Linked DNA regions of Homo sapiens: region 2 is linked to region 1. The links are contacts of gene promoters, found by promoter capture Hi-C in human tissues and cell types (Jung and others, 2019). All regions are on one chromosome and are shown on one strand. Each heading gives the region's core, a stretch centred on a gene start or on the middle of the fragment in contact. The rest is flanking DNA. Distances are from core to core; before and after follow the strand shown.

Region 1 (3,803 bases), core at 1,131-3,630:
AGTAAGCAAGTATTTTTTCCCCATTCAAAGGAACAGAAGACTTGCCCTGGGTGCCAGGCAAATCCTTGATGTTAAATTCCTGTCCCTGGCAGCAAGGGACCCGCCCTATCCTCTGCCTGACACATTTTGCTTCTTTACTCCCTTTTTGCTTGACACACCTGCCTCTCCCCAATCAAGTAAACATGATTTCTCCTTCTTTCAACCCCAATAGGGTGCTGCTTGGTTCATGTTTTGCCTTTAGTTTTGTGTCTGTTTTTGTCTTTTCCTCATTGTTAGATTTCAGTCCAGCTTGCTTTACATGTGGGGCACTATATTTTGTAGTGTAGAGCTGACATATAGTAGATACTCAATACTCAGTTTGATAAAACTCCTTGGCTTTTTTACCCTTCTCCCTTTCATATTTTAGAACAAAGCTCATAGACCCCTTAGTTGACACTATATTTGCTATAACACAGCCATTAAATTTTCTAGAATTCTTTTTTATTTGTTTTATTCAAATGGCTTCTCATGATTGGGCTTTCCTCTTGCTTGCTCTATCTGCCCACTTTGGAAATTGCTTTGTCAGCTCCACCGACTTTCTAAGCTGGGCCCAATCCCTAAATGGCCACAAGTATAAGGTCGCCTTTGGAGTTGAATAGTCTGAAGAGACATCAGTGCAAATCAAGGGCATAGGCATTGGAATCAGATTATCTTGTCTGGAATTATGCAGTCAAGGCTGTGTGACGTTGAGCACATTACCAAACCTCTCTGGGCTTTTTTTTAACCCAACTGTAAGGTAAAAATAATACCTACCTTATTGTTTGTTCGCTGCCTTGCAAGCCTTTCAAGGAGGTGAGACAGGGATGAAGCCCTTTCTCAGACTCAACATTTTAGTCATCTGCCCTCTAATCCTTTCCTTTTGCTTATTTGTCAAACTTGTACCTCCTTTAGGTGAGGACAAATACTTATATGTTGGCCATTTTATCCTCTCTACTCTATGACTTAGTGTAAAAAATCTCTCTCTCTTAGTCCTTACAATCATGAGACAATGAACTCCATTCTCATGACCATGTTTTAATGGGAGGAGGGTGGTAGAAGGAGGACACTTGCTTCCCTTTTGTGAGGTTTTTAAATTATATATTTATTATAACCTGTTCAAGAGTGGGTGAGAACAGTGTGGATTTTAAAAGGAACATTTCTGTGTCAGCAAAATGTCCCTGTGTTTGGGAGAGACTTTTGGAGGATTTCCAGGGGAAGCAAAGTAGTATTTACTGACAGTCCAAATGCAGTTTGGGCCTCTAACCTCTGGCCTCTCTCAATTTGTTTTGCAGTAAAAAGTCAGAGTACACAGCAAGGGTTCCAAATTAAGAGGAAGCAAAACGCTGCCCAGATCCTGAGAAACCTGGAGAAAATCAACCTTAGTAGTTTCAACTCATACATTGTCTTGTTTGATTTTGTTCTTTGTTTTTTATCCTCTTTAAGCACAGATGCGTGTTGAAGTCTAAGGTGTTCTGTCATCACACTCTCTTTACTAGAATAAGTGTGCCCAGGCAGAAAAAAAAGTGTATTCAATGTTGCTGGCATGTGTGGATTCACAGCTCGTGGCTGTAAGGAAATCTGGGGGTTTCATAAATCCATTAAAATCCTTTTAGAGTTGCCAACCCGCAGTAGGATTTTCTTTCTTTTTTTGTTCTTTTTTTCCCCTTCCAAGTGAGGCACATAAAGGATTCTACCTAGTCCATGAATGAACAGTTTCATAGAAACATTAAAACCCTAACATAACATGAATTATTCACAAAGTTGCATGAAACAATAATATTTAGGTTATCCAAATTATAAGAAGCCTGAAGGTTACCACCAAACTATTAAATTTTTCTAGGCATTAATTACATAACTAAACAAATGTATTTCTTAAAATTCTCTCTTCCTCTACATACACACAGTAACATCAAAAACAACAAGAGCAACTAAACCTCAATGAGTAGCTACAATGCAGAAAGAGTCCATTTCAATTCAAAGAAAAATATTTTCTCCTAAAAAATATGAGAAAACATTCTGTAGGTTCAAATGAATTTAGCCTTGGCTGAGATCACGAGCCACAAAAGTAAGTGGATATGTGACTATAATTATACAATGTTGGAAAATGGTGAGAGGACTTTAAAATATGCATTTCCTGGCCAGATTGTATCAGAAAACTGAACTAACTAGACAATAACACCTTACAAATTTTGAAGTCCAAAATTTTCAACTAAATTCCAGGAATTCAAAGAAAGACTTTTTTCCTTACCTGTCCCTTTGAGAAAGGAGCTCCAATAATCCCTATGGTTCTGGACTTGGCGCTCATGCTCTGACACTTCTCTTTGCTGCACTTGAGCTCTCCAGTCAGTCAACCCTCAGTGACAGAGGGCGCATCTTTTTTTTCCATTTATACTTGGGTTGAATAAACAACCTTTATCTAATGAGGACAGCTGGCTCCACCCACTAAACCAAAGAATGACAGTCAACAGTCTTGCAATTTTTCATACATGGAGTAACTATATGGTTACTCCATGTATGAAGTAACTATATGGGGTTACTTCATACATGGAGTAACCTAACTCTGAGTCTAGGTCTCTAATCAAGTGACAATTATTCATGTTCTCACTTCACACCCTTTTAAAAAGCCAGCCAGATGACATTAACCTGACTTCAACAACTGACAAGTTTCACAACTACAGAAGAAGTCCTATTGTTCTGGCTCAGCGAACTCAGGGCAAGGCCCTTTCCTCCTCCAGATCTCTGAAGACGTCCTTGTAGAAGAAGGGCCGGGCTTGGCAAGATCGTCTGTCACATCCCTTCCAGCCCTAAAATCCTGAGTTGAGATTTCACACATGAGGGTAAATGGTTAATCCATGAGACACATTTCATAAACTTTTAGGGTATAATATAATAAAGAGTATATAACTTCCTTTTTTGATGATTACTTTAAAAAATTAGTTACTTGATTGGTAACCCAGAGAGGTTACCATTTTTGAAGTATGGTGTACAGGAAAATAATTGTAGAATCATATCATAATCAAAGTATAGAAATAAAAATAGCTAACATTGAGTTTTTACCATGTGTCCGATGCAGTTCTGTTTCAAAATACCATATTTATATTTATACCAATTTTATGTGAAGTCTCATCATTGGTGCCATTATACTGATGAATAAACTGAAGCTCAGACCCGTTGCCAACATAGGCTGTAGAAGAAAAGTCGGGATTTAGTCTCTGCCATTCTGAATCCACTTAACCGTCGAGCTTATAGTCTAAATGCTGGGAAGGTGTCAACCTCTATGCCCCTGAGCTACCATTTGTCACCATACAAAAGTATGAATTTAAAATAAAGGCACCTTAAAGATCCTTCCGACTTTAAAATTATGTAATTGTAATTTAAAGGGAAAATTCACTTAGTAGAAACTAATTTCTTTTTCCTATTGGTGGGAAAGAACATTTTGGAATTTAAATTCCATGAGGTCAGAGAATTTTGTCTGCTGTATCCCCAGGGCCTAGAAGAGTGTTGGTGTATAATAGGCACTCAATAAATATTTATTGAATGGATAAATGAGGAAACCAAAGTCTCATGGGTCCATTTTGATAGGACTGTTTTCCAAATAGGTTTCCTACCTTTTTCTTGTGGGTTTGCTTGTATATCCTAAATATTTACTTGTGGTATTCCTCATATTGCCTAGATATTAACCTTATAGCATTGACATTGCAAATAACTTTTCCCAACCTGTCAGAAATCTGATAACTTTTTATATGTTATCACTCAAAATCCTCAATTTTAAAATAGACACTTGT
Region 2 (3,730 bases), core at 544-3,043, 1.3 Mb after region 1:
CCAATTTTCCTTTATTAAATTATAAACCTAAGTTTCTTAAATCAATATTCTAATTCCTCTCTTAAAGAATATTTGAATAATACCATTAATAGGTCTTTGAAGAACTCTTATTTTCACAGTTAATTACAAAGAAAAGAAGGAAAAGAAAGCTTAACTCCAAATCTATCTCTCCCAATGCTCACAAAAAGATTAGCTACGTAATTTTTCAGAGACCCATGCAAAATAAAAATGTGGGACCTCTTGTTCAAAAATTAAAAACTCCAAGACAGCAACAGCAGAGCATTACAGTGCAAGAGACGGCCCTGTGGACCTGCACAGATCTCATGCCCTTGTGAGCCTTGCTCACAACTGCATTCACCCCATGTATAATCTCTCACATTTAGGGAATGCTTCTTTTCACTCCATGTGTAAGTTTAGATATGTGTATAAAGTTTGATCTTTGTGAATTCACAAATATCACAGAATTCTTTAGATACATGAAAGTGTGTCCAGAAGCACAAAAAATACAGTAAAAATGTATTAAAATGATTCAAAAAGGCTAGGAAACAGAGAGAATGAGAGAATAAGTCAGAACAATAGCTAGATCATCCGCATCTTTTGTCACATTTTAGAAATAGAACCTCAGTAGTGAAGTAGTAGTTAAAACTTTAATCAGTAGCTTAAAATATCATTATAGAAAGAAAACACCAGGATGAGATGGTTTATCAGTTGGTTCTGGCAAATATTAATTAATAGTTTCATGTTCATGAACTCTTTCAAAGAATAGAAAAAGAAAGAACATTCTCTGTCTCATTCTATAAGGTTAGTATAAATCTTGATACTGTGATGTCTAATGTTTTCTCTCTACTCCATACTTGCCCTGTATACACTTATCTTTGGGGCTGGAAGTCTGCAAGCTATATTTCATAATCTCCTTGCCATCTGGCTTCCTGTTTGTTCCTGCTAATGTGAGGCACTGACAAGAGACTGGACAGTTAGTGGAATAGAAGCAATTTGTTTCTAATTTCTGTCGGTTCAACCAGCCATGGTAGATTTAGCTGTCATGGTGGCAGCCACCTGTGAGAGTAGATGCTTAGCAGAAGAGTAACTGCTTAGTCAACTTCCTTCCAGCTACAGCAGCCTCAGAATCGTAGCAAACATAGGCATCAGGTAATATCATTTTTCTTTTGCTTCTCTAACCCTCATTTACCTTCATTGGGTAATTAATCTTTCCTTTTTTGTTCCTCTAACTCTCCTAACAACTTTGTAATAAATTTAATTTCCTGTTTTAAATTTCACCTTCTTGCAAGTCTAAAATGATCCTATATTTTTCTGCTTAGACAGTGATTAATTTAGTGCTTAAATAATCCAAGAATAGTTGATAAAGTAAATATTTTTTAAGTAAAAATGTCCTGCTATGGTCTGAATGTTTGTACACTCCCTACCCAATTCATACGTTGAAACCTAATCCTTAGTGTGATAGTATTGGAAGGTGGAGCTTCTGGGAGGTAACTAGATCAGTGGGATTAGTGTCCTTATAAAAGAGACCCTAGAGAACTGCCTTTTCCTTCCACCATGTGAGGACACATTGTAAGGCATCATCTATGAACCAAAAGCTGGCTCTCACTGGACACTGAATCTGCTGCCATCTTGATCTTGGACTTCCAAGTATTCAGAAATAGGAGAAATAAATTTATTTTGTTTGTAAGTTATGCAGTTTATGGTGTTTTGTTATAGAAGCCCAAACAGACTAGGACAAGTCCTAAACAAAATATTAGCATTAGCAATATTAGCACATTAGCAATTTATTTTAAAAGATGAGATTGCCAAGTTGTATTTATTCCAAGATTTCAAGGTTGTTTGAATATCAGCAGATCAATCAACACATTGCATCCCAATAATATCTGAAAGGAGGAAAACCATATGACCTTCTTTACAGACTCAGGAAAGATATTTAACAAAATTTAATATCCATTCATGACTAAAATTCTTATCTAACTGGTAGAATTGAATGTTCATAACATGAAAAAGGGAATCTACAAAGGCCTTATTGCTATCATTTTTCTAAAAGAATATAAACATTCTCTTTAGAATCAGGAAAAATTATTATTCCTATCACAATTTCTGTTCAACATTGTTCTGGAGATTATAGACAGGGTAGTAAGATAAGGAAAAAATAAGTCAAAGAATTAAGTATTTAAAATTGAGAACAAATACTATAATTCTTTAGATGATACAGTTGAAAGTTTACACATAAAACCCACAGAATATATAGAAAAATATTAGGATATATAAGAGTTTAGCAGTGTTGCTAGAAATAAAACCAATGTAAATAAATCTACTTCATTTCTATATACCAGCAACAAATAGAAAATGTAATTTTACACTTTGGGAGGCTGAGGTGGGCGGATTGCCTGAGCTCAGGAGTTCAAGACCAGCCTGCGCAACATGGTGAAACCCCATCTCTACTAAAAATACAGAAAGTTAGCAGGGCATGCTGATGCACATGTGTGGTCCCAGCTACTTGAAAGGCTGAGGCATGACAATCACTTGAACACAGGAGACAGAGGCTACAGTGAGCCAAGATTGCACCACTGCACTCCAGCCTGGGCAGCAGAGTGAGACTCTGTCTCAAAAAAAAAAAAAAAAAAAAAAAAAAGGAAGAAAATGTAATTTTAGTGTTTATAGTAGCAACTAAGTAAAAACCATTAAAATATGTAAGCACTTTGTAGAAAAATTACAAAAGTTTATTGAAAGATATCTTAAAATACCTAAATAAGTAGAGTGATACGCCATCTTTTTAGAAAGACTCAATATAGTTTTTTAAATATCAATTATAATCTCGACTTAAAGTTTGGATAAAATTAAAATTTCGGCATAATTTTTTTTCATGGAACTTAGCAAGATGATTCTATGCACTGAATTCCAAGAGTCCGGAAAAGAGCCAAAACTCTCCTAAAGCAAAAGAGTAAGTGGAGAGATTTGTTTTAACTTCAGTAAAAAGTCATAAAGCTCTAGCAACTAAGATGAAAGTGTAATATTAGCATAGACATAGAGAATGTGTTCAGTGGAACTAAAGAGAGAAGCCCAACAACTAATCTATACATTTATGGAAACTTGATTTATGAACAAATTTGGCACTTCACCCAGCACTTTGGGAGGCCGAGGCGGGTGAATCACCTGATGTCAGGAGTTCGAGACCAGCCTGGCCAACATGGTGAAACCCTGTCTCTACTAAAAATACAAAAATTAGCTGGGTATGGTGGCATGTGTCTGTAGTCCCAGCTACTCAGGAGGCTGAGGCAGGAGAATCGCTTGAACCCAAGAGGCGGAGGTTGCAGTAAGCCGAGATCACATCACTGCACTTCAGCCTGGGTGGCACTTCAGATCAATGGGAAAATTAGGACTGTTCAACAATGTTGACAAAACCATTGTTTAACCGTGTAAGAAAAAAGCTGGATATGTACCTCATATAATACATAAAAATCAGTCCCAGGAAATTTAAAACTTACATTTGAAAGGGAAAACATTTAAACATATAGGAGAAAATGTAGATAAATGTTTATACACTCAAGTTAGAATTTATTAAAGAAAAAACAAAAATGACAAACTTAAAGGAAAATATTTATAAATTCGAAAACTTTAAAATTAAAACCTTATGTTAATCAAAACATAATAAAAACACGAAAAAAACTGGAAGATAGACTTGCAACACACATACAAAATAAAGAATTAAAATGTAGAATATATT

What was found. The method cuts DNA at HindIII sites, captures the fragments that hold promoters and counts their contacts. A contact is called where the count stands out against the background at its distance.
Region 2: a fragment that was not itself captured here is called in contact with the fragment with the promoter of ARG1 in region 1 in 1 of the 25 tissues and cell types used here (dorsolateral prefrontal cortex).

Annotation. Positions count from the first base shown.
Region 1 is chr6:131,571,803-131,575,605 of GRCh38, reverse strand. It overlaps ARG1 (arginase 1), which reads right to left and starts at 2,380. Exons shown (of 8, transcript NM_000045.4): 1 at 2,267-2,380. The coding sequence starts at 2,323. It also overlaps a transcript of MED23 not described here. RefSeq lists an enhancer at 2,413-2,914. The HindIII fragment of the contact is 11,485 bases long and covers 1-3,803 here.
Region 2 is chr6:130,303,835-130,307,564 of GRCh38, reverse strand. It overlaps a transcript of SAMD3 not described here. Among named protein-coding and RNA genes, the nearest start is that of TMEM200A, 60 kb to the left of the region's middle. The HindIII fragment of the contact is 3,594 bases long and covers 1-3,590 here.